Linked DNA regions of Homo sapiens: regions 2 and 3 are each linked to region 1. The links are contacts of gene promoters, found by promoter capture Hi-C in blood cells and fetal thymus (Javierre and others, 2016). All regions are on one chromosome and are shown on one strand. Each heading gives the region's core, a stretch centred on a gene start or on the middle of the fragment in contact. The rest is flanking DNA. Distances are from core to core; before and after follow the strand shown.

Region 1 (4,671 bases), core at 1-2,500:
TCTTGCGATCCTGGGATGCTCATCCTGGGAATCCAGACACCATGTTGTGAGGAGGCCCAGGCCACAAGGAGAGGCCACCTATAAGCATTCAGGCCAGCAGCCCCAGGTGAGTTCCCAGCCAACATCAACGGCCAGATGTATGAGTGAATGATCTCACGTGGTCCCAGCCTTTGCATGACTTTGCATGACGCCAGCTGATGCCAAGTGGGACAGAGATGAGCTGCCCATTCCAATCTCTGCCCACATTGCAGATTCATGAGAAAAATAAATGTCACTGTTTGGGGGTGAATCATGACACAGTTACAGTACTTGAAACATTTTGCGAAGCCAGGCATGAATGTCATATGAAATTCTAATAAATCCATTTTATTTGTGGCACCACAATATTATCATTAAGCTCTCTTTTTACACAGTCTGCAATTTGTATCAGCTGCCCCCGTGTGACTCTGCCCTTATTTTAGGAACAACCTTTTGCTGGGTGGCGTCCTAGAAGGTCTGGGCCTGGGCAGCAGCCACTGGGAAGCCCACCTGTGCTTTCCCCCATCTGGGTGGGGCGGCAGCAGAGACCCTGAGAATCAGCGGTTATGGGAGCTGTGTGTTAGCTGTGTGTTATTGGCTTTGGCTTCAGCATGTCCTGCCTAGGAGTCTCCAGCAGCTGTGGTTTCCTTGGACTGGAGGCTTTTTCTCCTGATGACAATCGTGACAGGTCCATCAGGCAGTGCCTTGATGATGTTCCAGGCTTCAAACCGTGTGAGGCCCTGCATGGCAGTGCCACCCAGCTGTAAGATTTCATCTCCAGGCTGGACTGTCTCACTTTGTTCTGAGGCTGCTCCTGAAATGAGGGAGAAGGTAATGGGTTCCACAGATGATGGGGAACAAGGAAAGTTGCCTCCTCTCCTTGATCTCCAAAGAGCCAGGATAGCTTGGTAGAGAACAGGGCACCATCCCTTGGGAGCTTGCTTGTTGGTGGTTCTAAAATGAGGCATCTCTTAAGATGGTGACTCAGAGGTTAGGGCACCAGGCTCCAGCTCTCCATGGCCTTTGGAAAGGGATAGCCCTTGCTGTCCCCAGGGGAGGGAAATATCAGGCAGCTCCACGCCTTAGCCTGCCTGGAGCACCGTCCATAGTTCATAGAGGACTCTGGGGAGCTGAGTCCTGCCCAGACCCTGCTTTGGACACTGACCCAATATCCTACTCCCTTCACATTTGTTCTCCGCATGTGGTGAGGACATCAGCATTGGGTGGTATGGGAAGAGAGCTAGTGAGATTTTTGTGCAACAATATTTACAGGGATCTTGCCTCTGGCACGAAGTCCTCTGTGTCCACATAAAAAAGGAAACAACCATATATGGCCCCCACTATTTCAAAGCTGCAAGTGAAAACAATGCTATTTTACTGTTTATATTAAAATAAAATTTCCCATCCATTTGACACAGTGATCTTCACAAATCCTGATAAGAGTAGAAGATAATACTAATGATAGTAATGAAAATATAGCTAAAGTGTATTGGGCAATTATTTTAACAGGCGTTGTGCTAATGTTTTGCATTTATGACAGTAATCCTATGAGGGGTGTATTATTTGTGTTTCCTTTTAACAGCTGAGGAAACCAAGAACTCAAGTAACTGGCCCAGAGCTTCATAGCTGCTAGTGGTGGGCCCTGGGCTGGAACCCAGACTTTCTGGCTCCAGAATCTGCATCTCTCCTTCCAACATCACCCTGCAGCTGGCAGTCTCATCCTAAACATTTAAGCAAATGGGCCCATGGTGGTGAAGTGACTTGTCCAAGATCATGCTACCAAGGTCATGTGGCAGAACTAACACTGGAATCTAGTCCTCTTGACATTGAACCCAATGCTCCTTCCAAATTGACCTTCAAAAATTAGAAATATCTTTCCCAGAATTGGGGTTAACATGGATTCTGGGGGGAATGCCATGTAAGCCTCACTCTACCTTCTGGGTTTCTGCAGCCGCAGCAGAACTTCCTCTAACGAAACCAGTCAGCAGCAGGAGCTCATAGTGGGTGAGGGACAGAGCTAAGAGTCCCTTTGGGTCTCAGTCCTAAGAGCCCTCAGACACACACCTGTACCTCTTTACCTCCTTTTATGGATGAAGAGCCTCAGGCCCAGAAGGGAAGGGTCACTCAGCACATTACAGGCAGAGCTGGGACTAGAACCTGGCCCACCTGCCTCCCTGTCCAGTACTCCTCTCTCTACAACCCCTTGCTCTGTGGCTTGGAGACCTCCAATTTGAGGAACACCAAAGAATCAGGGATGGTTTTACATGGTAGCCACAGTCATTCATGATTTTCACAGGGAAATCCAAGTGACCCCCATATCAGACTGGTTTGTACTCCAATCCCTGATGAACAAAATATCTATCAACATTTTAAATAAAGGCAGGAGCTGACGTGTCCAGGACTAGGGTAAGGCAAATGAGGCCAAGTGTGCAGTACAAAGTCAGACTCTGTCTTGATTTAAACTTGGATATTTTGTCCAACATGTTTTTTTAAAATTAATTTTAAAAAACACGCTGCATTAAAATAGTATCGATCTGAGTTACTGAGTGTTTTGGCACCCCTTTAAAATTCTGCCCCACAGGCCAGTGCCTCACTGCCCCACTCTAGAGTCCTGGCCCTGCCAACCCGAACCAAGCCCAGGACTTAGGTATTTTTGAAGACCCATCAAAACAGAGGGGGGATTGAGGGGATGTCTGAGCAAAGGAGAAAAAGTAGAAAAAGCAGAATTGAGCCCTAAAAGGACCAGCATGCCTATGAAGAGGACATGGAGTTGTGGGAAACAACATAGCCCAGAAAGTGCCCAGAAGCCTTTTGGGGGCCTGGCCACATGCCCACAACTGGAGAGCACGCAAAGAACCAGACACACCCCACACCTTTGAAAATCCTGTTAATGGTGAGAGGCTTGTCTCCGTGTAGGGAGCCCTTCCCTCCTTCCAGGCTGAAGCCCAGCCCTGCCGACATCTTCTCCAGTGTCACCGTGCAGACTGTGGCCTCTGCTGCTGAGAAAAACACAAGGTCTCTGTTAGGGATCCTCTCCTCTCCCAGGCCACAGATGCCCTGGGCTTCAAGTGAGCCCGGGGTGATACAGCCCCCGTGTTTGCACACAGGCACATGTAAACACGTCTCAGGCAGTGTACTAGGCAGCCACACATTCTTGGGGTCACAAATTACTGAGTAGCCCCATCAGGTCTGGCCCCAAATGGCCAAAGAGGATGTGGCCCATGTGGCTTCCACTGAGTTGGGAGAACTTACTAGATTCTACAGAAACATCACTGGCTGCAGAGGCTGAGGCTGCAGAGTCAGTGGAGGAGTTGAGGTCGGGCATGGCCTCTGGAGTCAGCTTCCTTGTGACAATCACAGCTTGCCTGGGCTCTCGAGCTTGGCGGAGGATGGCCAAGGCATCATGGTGCGTGGTCCCCTTGAGAGACTTGCCGTTGATGGAAAGAACCTCATTGCCCTTCTGAATAGTCCCTTCCTGGGAGGCCAGCCCATTTGGAAACACTCTGTGAACCTGAGCAAACCAAAGGAAGTCAGGACCAGAAATCACACAAGTCCAGTCCACATACTTGCTGGAGGAGGATTGAACCGGTTAGTCAATGCTAGAGGATTTTTAGGCCAACAAAGATTAAAGATAATTGTGTCCTAGATTGGAGCTGCTGGCACAGAGGCCAGCATTCCCTCCTTCTCCATCCAGAGCAGAGATCACCAGCAGTAATGACCAGGTAAGCCCTCAGAATCCATCCCAACACAACGTCCTATAGTGTACCACCACGATTCTAGTTGGGATTCCATATAAAATCTTTTGCTTCACCTGCCCTAGGTCAGAAGTCCCCAGAGTAGTTTTCTCAAGGCACTGATTCTATGGCATATTAACGGGTATTGTGTAAGAAAAAGGCTTTTCCTATTATTTTTTAAAAAATAGAGACAGGGTCTCCCAGTGTTGCCCAGGATGGTCTCAAACTCCTGGGCTCAAGCAATCCTCTCACCTTGGCCCCGCACAGTGTTGGAATTACAGGTATGAGCCACCACACCCGGCCAAGAAAAATTTTTTAAAATCAAAGAAACTTGAGGAATACTGGGTGAAACAAAAGCTCTGACATTGTCTACTTTTAAAAAGCAAAAGGCATTAGAGGGTCTACAATGCAAATTTGCATGGCAGCAGATTTCTAAGCAAAAGGCATTTAGAGGGTCTACAATGCAAATCTGCATGGCAGATTTCTAAGTATTGGCAGGGTATTATGGGGATTCCCAAAGTGTTTCAACAAAGAATTCTTTTCTCATAGAGAAATTCTCGGTCTCATTTGGCAGAATGCATTTTGAGAAACACTCTCCTAGGCAGTCTAGACATTTTTATAGCTCCTCCCCTAGAAATTCTGACTCTTTACCTCCAGTCACCTCTTGGTCCCCTTTCTGCAAGATATGTGGGATAAACAAACACACAAAAATATCTCATGTCTCTGCCTCAGCCTCTTTAATGAGGTCCATTATAATTAAGAGGACTGAGTGATAGCATGCATGGAAACCACTAAAATGTGGTACCTGTAGTTTTGCTTTTATGATAGGAGCAAAGCTCTTTGCTTCTCTAAATTGTTTTGGTGTTAGAAAAATTCTGTTACATGGTTAGAATCCCCAGGCTGTAACATCCAAGCATGA
Region 2 (4,632 bases), core at 12-2,511, 1.3 Mb after region 1:
TCAAGGGCGGTACTGCCAGAGTCACCTCGAGAGGCCCTGTTCTCTGCCACCCAGGCTGTTTTGTAGTCTCCATTCCAAATTGTCGTTACTCCGGTTTACCCCGTGGATGGCGTTTAAGACTTTTCTTAAATTTGAAATTCACAGAACCATTTTAAAGTGAACAATTCAGTGGCATTTAGTACCTTCGCAGTGTTGTGCAACTTCCACCTCTATCTAGCTGCAAAACATTTTCTTTTCTTTTTTTTTTTGGAGACAGAGTCTCGCTCTGTTGCCCAGACTGGAGTGCAGTGGCGTGATCTTGGCTCACTGCAACTTCTGTCTCCCGGGTTCAAGCAATTCTCCTGCCTCAGCCTCCCGAGTAGCTGGGATTACAGGCACACGCCACCCGCCTGGCTAATTTTTTGTATTTTAGTACAGACGGGGATTTACCATATTGCCCAGGCTGGTCTCAAACTCCTGAGCTCAGGCAATCCGCCCGCCTTGTCCTCCCAAAGTGCTAGGATTACAGGCGTGAGCCAACGCGGCCGGCCTTGTAAAACATTTTCATCACACAAAAGAAAACCTTCTACCCATTAAGCAGTTACTCCTTCCTCTTCTCAGCCCCTGTCAACCACCAATTTGCTTTCTATCCTATGGATTTAACTGTCTGGATATTTCATAGAAATAGAATCACATAATGTATGACCTTTTCTGTTTGGCTTCTTTCTATTAGCCTAATGTTTTTGAGGTTCATTCCTGTTGAAGCATGTATCAGTTCTTCATTCCTTTTTTGGGATGAATAATGTTCCATAATTTATTTATCCTTTCGTCTGTTGATGAACATTTGAGTTGTGTCCACATCTTGGCTATTGTGAATAGTGCTGCCATGTACATTCGTATGTAAGTATTTGAGTATCTGTTGGGTGTATACCTATGAATGGAATTGCTGGGTCTTTTGACAATTCTGTATTTAACTTTTTGAGAAACTGCCAACATTTTCACAGGGGTTGTACCATTTCACATTCCCACCAGCAATCTACAAGGATTCTAATTTCTCCACATCCTGCATTTAAGACTTGCAAAGCTGAATTAATCACAGGATGAGGAAGTGGCTTCTCTGAAACATTTTCCTCTTTCACATTTTAAACTTTCTCTTTCATACATGACATGAAACACAGCCTACGCACGAAAGTGACTAGGAGGAAGGATATTATAAAGTGATGCAAACAGAAATTCCACCAGCCTCCATGTATCATCATGTGTCATAACTCAGTCAAGCTCAGTGAGCATTCTCAGCACATTGCCTCAACAGCTTCAAGGTGAGCCAGCTCAAGACTTTGCTCTCCACCAGGCAGAAGATGACAGACTGTGAATTTGGATATATTTACAGGCTGGCTCAGGACTATCTGCAGTGCGTCCTACAGATACCACAACCTGGATCAGGTCCAAGCAAAACGTCCAGAGTGCTACAAAATGTTGCGTTCTCAGTCCAAAAAGAAGTGGAAAAGAATCTGAAGTCATGCTTGGACAATGTTAATGTTGTGTCCGTAGACACTGCCAGAACACTATTCAACCAAGTGATGGAAAAGGAGTTTGAAGACGGCATCATTAACTGGGGAAGAATTGTAACCATATTTGCATTTGAAGGTATTCTCATCAAGAAACTTCTACGACAGCAAATTGCCCCGGATGTGGATACCTATAAGGAGATTTCATATTTTGTTGCGGAGTTCATAATGAATAACACAGGAGAATGGATAAGGCAAAACGGAGGCTGGGTATGTGTGATGGAAAAATTCTTCATTGTTCTTTCCTGTGAAATAGAAATTGAGAATTTCCTTGCTAGTTAAAACAACAACAAAACACTTTACCTAAGAATACTATTTTCCTTGGGTGGTTTGTTTTAATTTTTAAAATAAAAATATACTTTCTGGCTTATTTCCAATGAATCCTTGAACTTGAACTTTATAGTTGGAAAGCACTTATGTTTTCAGTTTTTATTCTTAACAGTATAAATTACAGTAGTGAGCTTTGGGGATTAATAAAGCACCTCTCTCATGCAGCTTCACAATCAGCTGTGCACACACTCTAATCTAGTACTTAGCTTTTGCTAGGGTTGTCATGACAGTACAGACAGTACAGAAATTTCTACAATCAGCACAGAAAGTTGCTATCAGATGCTGTTATTTTTAGGTATTTATGGGTTGCAAAAGACAGGTGTAAATTTTTGTAAGTTCATCGCTTACAAATTGGTGTTTTTCAGTTTACTAATACATAATAAATAGTAACATATATTAATATATAGCAAATTACATTACATATAATATATAACACATTATTACTAATAATAAATTCCGGGCTGTTAAAGTTTGTTGATTAAAACATAATATACTGTATGACCAGCAAGAACCTTTATTCAAGAATTTTCAAATAAAAATTTACTTTATTATCAGTGCCTAAAAAAGCCAAGACTATGTAGAGGCCTGTGTTGAAACTCATGTTGGTAAAAAGCCTGACACAGCTGGATGTATATGGTTTCCTTTATATTCCAATATACTTAATAATTATTTTTTTAAAGCACTTAAGTGTTCATTGATCCTCTCTCCAACGGCCTTCACCTCTCCCAAGAGGTAACCACTGTTATCAATTATTTTGCATGCAAAACATGCCTACTGAATCTATCCATAGAAAATAAACAATACTTCTTTGTAAAACATTTTTTGTAAAAAAAGTTTTATATAAAATGTATATGTATGCTTATGTATATGTTTTACATAACATATATGTTATACCATATAACACATACCTTTTTTACATATACACATAGATTTTTTATGTATACATATAAATTTTGCATACATATTTTTACATGTGTATATGTAAAAATAGTACATGGTACTAATGCTGCCACTTATTTTTTTACCCAGAATTATTTAAAATAGTATTATTAAGAGTGCTGTGTATATTCTGTTATATGTAAGTGCTGTAGAGTACCTGGCCATTTCTAGCTGATAGCTGTTTAGGTTATTTCGAGTTTGCTGTCACACACAATGCTTCATTGAATATCATTTTACGTAAATCTTCCCTTGTGCGTGTGTGTAGTTTTCTAGGGTGGATGTTGGGTTGTAGATGCTGGGTCATGGTGTACATACATTTTTTAATTTGTTAGGTCCTTGCCCTCCAAAGTGGCTCTACCAAGTTACACTCCCATCAGCAGCTCGTTAGGATATGCCCCGGGATTCTCCTACCCCAGCTGACTAACAGTAGGTTGCTGCAATTCATCATAATTTTCTTAATTTGTTGGGCTAAAAATATAGAGTTTATCTTGTTTCAATTCTTGTTTTCTTGATTTCTAGTAAGGTTAATTTTTTTTTTACATTTTGAGCATCTTTTCATATATTAACTGATCATTTGTAAATGCAGGGAATTGTCTGTTTACACCCTTTGCCCATTTTCCTTTTATTTTGTCTTTTTCTTATTGATTTGTAGGAATTCTTTGAATATTCTGGATACAAATTATTATTTTTATTATTGTTTAAATTTTTTGAGACAGAGTTTTCATTCTTGTTGCCCAGGCTGGAGTGCAGTGGTGTGATCTCAGCTCACTGCAACCTCTGCCTCCTGGTTTCGAGCAATTCTCCTGCCTCATCCTCCCAAGTAGCTGGGATTACAGGCATGTGCCACCACACCCAGCTAATTTTGTATTTTTAGTAGAGACAGGGTTTCACCATGTTAGTCAGGCTGGTCTCGAACTCCTGACCTCGGGTGATCCTCCCCCTTTGGCCTCCCAAAGTGATGGGATCACAGGCGTGAGCCATGCACCCAAATTATTTTTATGTATGTGGCAGATATCTTTTAGTTTGCTGATTAACGCTAATGATGTCTTTGGTCATTATAAATGTTTAAAAGTTTGTTGCAATCAAATTTATTGATCTTTTACTTGATGCCTTTTTCATTTTGTTTAAGGCCTTCCTGCATGATAGAGCTTACTGCAGCTACTCCCCTTTCTCAATCACCTTCTTCCTGGAACTTAGTTCTTTCTAACTGAGCCTGACTGAGGCTGGGCGAATCATGTGAAATGTTTTGTCATGTTTTCTTCCGGTTGGCTGTGGGAGGCTATACTTGAGGACTGGTGGAAATTCAGCTGCACTGTGTAGATTTCAGGTGAAGGCAAATGTTCTCTGGCACAGAGGACCACAGATGAGCCTGCAGAGAAATACTCTACTAGTTTGCAGGCTCTATTTGGGTTTGGATTGTATTTCCAACGCTTAGCATAATACTTGGAGCACACAGACAGTGAATAAATGTTAGTTAAAAATTTAACTTCTCCACAATAAATTTTGTGAGCTCCTGGAACTCACTGTTAGCAAGAGGTGTGGAATTGTCTCTGAGAATTTCTAGTAGTACCCTCATCTTTCAAGGGTGGTACAGATGTAAACATGAGTGTGGCCGGATGAACCTCTCCCGAGTGTAGATACAAATACACACATTGCCTGCACGTGCACACACTCAGCCTTTCTAAAGTTTCCAAGCTCTTTTTTTTTTTTAAAAAAAACACCTGAATAGTTCAAGTTGTAGACATGAAATAAATACTCTTGGAAATGTCATTTCAAAGCAATCTCCATGCCGCTTTCCCAGCTCAGATGAGACATT
Region 3 (4,499 bases), core at 260-2,759, 1.7 Mb before region 1:
CATGTCCACCTAAGCTTTCCCTTAGGAAGGAAGGAGTGTCTAAGGCCTCCTGTAGAGAACTCAATCTCTACTTGAGCTCAGATCCTACCTCTTCAGGAACCGTCCTCTGCTGTAACCTCTCTTCTCCTGGCTCTTTCCTACCAATCTTCAAATATGATAAAAATAAGTCTCTGAATGTCATGTGCCCCTCCAGATACCAATTGCTCCTTCACAGTGAAGTCACTGGATTATTCTCTACAATTATCTCCATTTCCTTCTCTCCACTAAAACTGCTGTAGCCCGGGTCACCACCACCACCCTGATTTCTAAATCTTGTGGCCACTTCTCAGTCGTTACATGTGACATGTTCTCTCCAGAGTGTTCATCACTGTTGATGTTCCCTCTTGAAGCGCCCTTCTTTAGCTGCCGTTACACCGTACTCCTACCTGGTCAGTGTCCTTTGGTGACTTCTCTACCTGCCCTTGCTGTTCTAACCTGGGCCCTCGTGCTCTTTACACACTCTCTCATCCATTTCCATAGCTTCAATTGCCATCTGCTTTCAGAAGATTCCAGAATCTCTATCACCAGCCTTGATTTCGCAAACTCCAGTCACATATATTCAGTTACCCCTTTAACATTTGTATTTGGATGTCCTGTGGGCATCTCAAACTCATTATGTCCAAAGCTGAACTCCTCACCTCGGCCTCCCAAACCTGTTCCTTGGGCCCCAAACCTGGGCATTTCCTTGACTTTTCCCCCTTATTCGCACATGCAGTCATTCCCAAGTTCTGATCATTTCAGTTCCTGAAGATCCTTGAAATGATCAGCGCTCCACCCTCCCTGCGGTTACTCTAGTTCAGGCCACCCTCTCCCATTTAGGGGGCGGATCTCCCTGTCTCTGGCTTTTCCTCTGTCGGCCACAGTGCAGCCGGTGTCTTTCTAAAACCCAGCAAATTGGGCTGCTAATAATCCCTTGCTTGAAAGCCTTCAGTGACTCCATGATCTTGCCTCTGCTGATTTGTTTCATGTCTCTCCATATCACATGTCGCAGTGTATTTCCTCTTCTTTTACATTGTGGGATCCGCTGCGCCTGGCACAAGGTAGGTGCGCCATCGATACGTGGAAGATTCACAAGGGCCAAGCCGCCACGAGGCTCTATATCGACTTGATGGCCACAGGCAGCGCGTGGGACTCTGCATCTGCTGCTTGGCTGTGGGAGCGAGAAGACACCTGGCCCTGTGCACTCCTTGCCGCGCTCTCCAATTCTGAGAAGTGACAATACCTTTCTTTCCCCGATTAGGAAAGAGGTGACACACCTTCCTATCAGCTGAGCAGGGTGGGCCAAGACACGGTGAGGCCTCAGCTCCGCAGCTCCACTTCCTGGGGCTCGGCCCGTTCCAGAACAAAAGAGACTCGCGCATGTTCTGCGGCCACGAGACTCGCTCCCGCCGGCCTTAAGGTGTCGCCCTCTGGCCAGAGCGGATGCGCCGGGCGGTGGGGCCGCTCCTGCCGGCTACCTGCGCAAGCGCAGAGGGCTCTTCCGGCGCCTTCCCAGGCGGGGATGCTGCGGCTCCGCAGCGGGCTGAGGCACCTTCGGGCAACACCCAATACTCGGGGCTCCGCTCGGCTTCTTTGCGCCGAGATGCCTAAGAAGGCTGGTGCGACGACCAAGGCCAGTAGCAGGTCCCGTGGCGGCAGAGGGGTGGGCCTCAGGGGTACTTGTTGAAGAGCGCGGGAGAAGCGGGGCCCGGGAGTGAGTGGAGGCACTGCCAGCGGCTTGCCGTCTCTCAGTTCCGGGGCTCAGGACAGCCGCCGCCACCCCCAGAGCTGCGGCCTGCTGCCGTCGCCCCGCCTCAGTAGGCTGCGCTGCCGTCCACCTGGTGATTTCTGAGCGCTGGGCCCGGCGGCAGCCGAGCTCTCCTTGGGCTGCGTGTGCTGACCTTTGGCCTCCTACCCGCACTCCCAGTCCAGCAATTCATGTTCCCGCAGCGGCATGACCTGCGTTTCCCCAGGAGGCTGTATTCTGCTTTCTCCTCCCTTGCTTTGGCTGATCGCACCCCTTCTGTCAAGAATACAGCACTCCCATTTCCACCATCTTTGTTTGGCCAACCCCAGTCCGTTTCTCAGACTCAGCTCAAGCACTGCCTCCTGCTGGCAGCATTCTCCAGTGCCCCAATGCTGATTTGCCTGTGGGGTAATGTTCTGTGCCTATCTCATCGGTGCACTTAGCACAGTGTATTATAATTTTGTATGTTCTTTCTCCCTCGCAGCAGTCCGAGCTCCTTGAGAGCAAGGACCATGTACCTTTTCATCTTTACATATCCATTGCCTACATATTTGTTGAACGAAAGTTCCTAGCACAGCCCCTGTCCCATAACAGGCCTTTAAATATCAAGCACTATTTTTTTTTCCTCCCTTTCCCGCAACATGCAGACATACACACTTTCACCAACATTTATTAGCTCCGACTGCATGAGATACAATGATGAATAATAAATGATCCCTGCCCCCAAGGAATTGGAAATACAAAGCAGAGGGAGGAGCAAGCATTAAGGTTTAGAAGCCAGAGTTAGGTTTTCTTGCAAGGGGGGAAAAAACACTGTTGGGTTGATGGGAACCCTTCGTGGGAAAATTGAGTAGAGCCTTGAAGGTTGTGGGAAAAGCTTTCTAGGTGGCCAGAAGTCCCTGGACACCACTGATGAGCCTAGTTTGTCTGTTAAGGGTGAAAGGGGGTAGTGGAAGAATCAAATTAAATGTGTGGGAAAATATTTTGTAACCTGTAAAGTTGTGTGGTTGTCATTTTAGGGTAAAAGCCAGAGCAAGGAACCAGAGAGACCACTTCCTCCCTTAGGTCCTGTGGCAGTTGATCCTAAAGGATGCGTCACCATAGCCATCCATGCAAAACCTGGCTCCAAACAAAATGCTGTAACAGGTATACCTGGACACTGGGGTGGGATTCAAGTGTGAATCAGGTGTCTCCTACAGCCCTCCTTTGCTTTGGTTAGCTGAAAGCTTATTCTATGACAGTTGATTTTTCACATCTGCAGTTAGAGGCTTCTCCATTTTAAAATTCTAGATTCTAATGTAAAGGTGTCTTAAAGTGAATATATCTTTAAATCATGCCAAGTTACACGAAAACCATTGTATATTTTCCTCTTTAAAAATACAGTATTTTAGAAAGGACAGTTATGGAAACTTGTGTGTAGTCTGGATTATTCTTAGTTTGTCCTGTTCCAAAACTGGAGACATTGGCCAGAGAAAGAAGAGACATTTTAGTGTAGTTTAATGATCACTGGCCTAAGGAGAGGGAGAAAACTTGAGATCTGAGACCCGTGATCAGTTCCTGTGCGAATTTGTTTTAAATCAAAACAGTATAAAACATTCATGGGTCCAGTTTTTTCATCTGTCAGATGAGATCGTTGGACTAAGTTAGAGGCTTTCAGGCTATTCTCTGGAGTGCTGGAGGTGCCTCAGGAATCAGCTTTGGGCAAGGAGGAGGCCAGGCAGACAGGGCTCCTGACTAGCTCTGTTTACATTTGTTTTACATATTGGGATTCTGGAGAAAATTGGGGGAAGGGATTCTAAAGGAAAAAAAGTTCAAAAACCATTGCTCTAAATTCTTTTGAAGGTCTTTTTCACCTCTAAAGCTCTGTATTTCAAACCATTTTTAGATTTTGAAAGGAAAACCACAACATTGACGTGCTAGACCTGGTTTATGCTGATGACCAAGTTAACTTAGCCATACCCTCCTTGGCCAGCATTTTCTAAGTAGTGGGTGTGGACACTGTCTACGTTGGAGTATTATGTTTCATTAGATCTAAAATGGGAGGCTGGATGCCATGGCTCATTTGTAAAATGGAGATAATAATGGTACTAATATCTTCATAAAGTTATTATAAGGATTAAAGAAGTTAGTATTTGTAAAGCCTTTAACACATTTGTGTGTGCTTAAAATTGGTGTATAGTAAGTGCTCTGTAAATATTTGTTAAGTAAACATTATTAAATTTTAAAAACACTCAAGATATGTGTCACATAAGAGGTGAACCTAGTCCGGGGCTCTCATTTTCCTGTTGAGGAAACCCTGCACAACCTTGTACAATCTAGTAAGCTGCCCTGTCCATACACTTCTTCAGTGACATTGATGAGGCTGAAGGCCATCTATGACTCCCTGCCTGGGGCTCTTCACATACCAAGGGCAATTTCCAGTTGCCTAAATCCAGGATATTCCCCAGGGCTCTGTAAGCCCATCTTGGTCGGCAAGATTGGGTCAATAACTTTTCTTCTCTGGATTTATTTCCTGTAATGGTAGGGCCATTTTTATCATGTTCATGTTCCTTAAATGTGATTAGTTTAATCATTCATTTCTTCATTCAACAGTTTTTAATTGAAAATCTGTGTGCCAGGCAAATGCAAAAACTCTTTTACAAAATGTCCTTGCTTCATGAAGAAAAAGAACTCCTTAAGGATAAAGTCCACACTATTTTCATTCCAGATTTGACAGCAGAGGCTGTAAATGTAG

Evidence for each region. Contacts are between HindIII fragments. The CHiCAGO score rates a contact against its expected background, and 5 or more counts as called.
Region 2: a contact is called between the fragment with the promoter of BCL2A1 here and a fragment that was not itself captured in region 1, in 1 of 17 cell types (monocytes). The highest score is 6.7, in monocytes.
Region 3: the fragment with the promoter of C15orf40 here is called in contact with a fragment that was not itself captured in region 1 in 4 of 17 cell types (naive CD8 T cells, activated CD4 T cells, M0 macrophages and 1 more); the score reaches 10.8 in naive CD8 T cells.

What each region holds. Positions count from the first base shown.
Region 1 is chr15:81,304,766-81,309,436 of GRCh38, reverse strand. IL16 (interleukin 16) reads right to left here. Exons shown (of 19, transcript NM_172217.5): 17 at 3,271-3,529; 18 at 2,892-3,017; 19 at 1-832. The coding sequence ends at 639. STARD5 (StAR related lipid transfer domain containing 5) reads left to right here. Exons shown (of 6, transcript NM_181900.3): 6 at 1-384. Among named protein-coding and RNA genes, the nearest start is that of STARD5, 17 kb to the left of the region's middle. RefSeq lists a silencer at 706-883. The HindIII fragment of the contact is 7,388 bases long and covers 1-4,671 here.
Region 2 is chr15:79,967,825-79,972,456 of GRCh38, reverse strand. BCL2A1 (BCL2 related protein A1) reads left to right here and starts at 1,261. Exons shown (of 2, transcript NM_004049.4): 1 at 1,261-1,757. The coding sequence starts at 1,338. RefSeq lists enhancers at 638-1,837, 4,142-4,191. The HindIII fragment of the contact is 17,831 bases long and covers 1-4,632 here.
Region 3 is chr15:83,008,649-83,013,147 of GRCh38, reverse strand. It overlaps C15orf40 (chromosome 15 open reading frame 40), which reads left to right and starts at 1,509. Exons shown (of 4, transcript NM_144597.3): 1 at 1,509-1,651; 2 at 2,785-2,911; 3 at 4,473-4,499. The coding sequence starts at 1,541. It overlaps LOC124903542 (a long non-coding RNA gene), which reads right to left and starts at 1,407. Exons shown (of 2, transcript XR_007064742.1): 1 at 89-1,407. RefSeq lists an enhancer at 1,272-1,331. The HindIII fragment of the contact is 2,628 bases long and covers 17-2,644 here.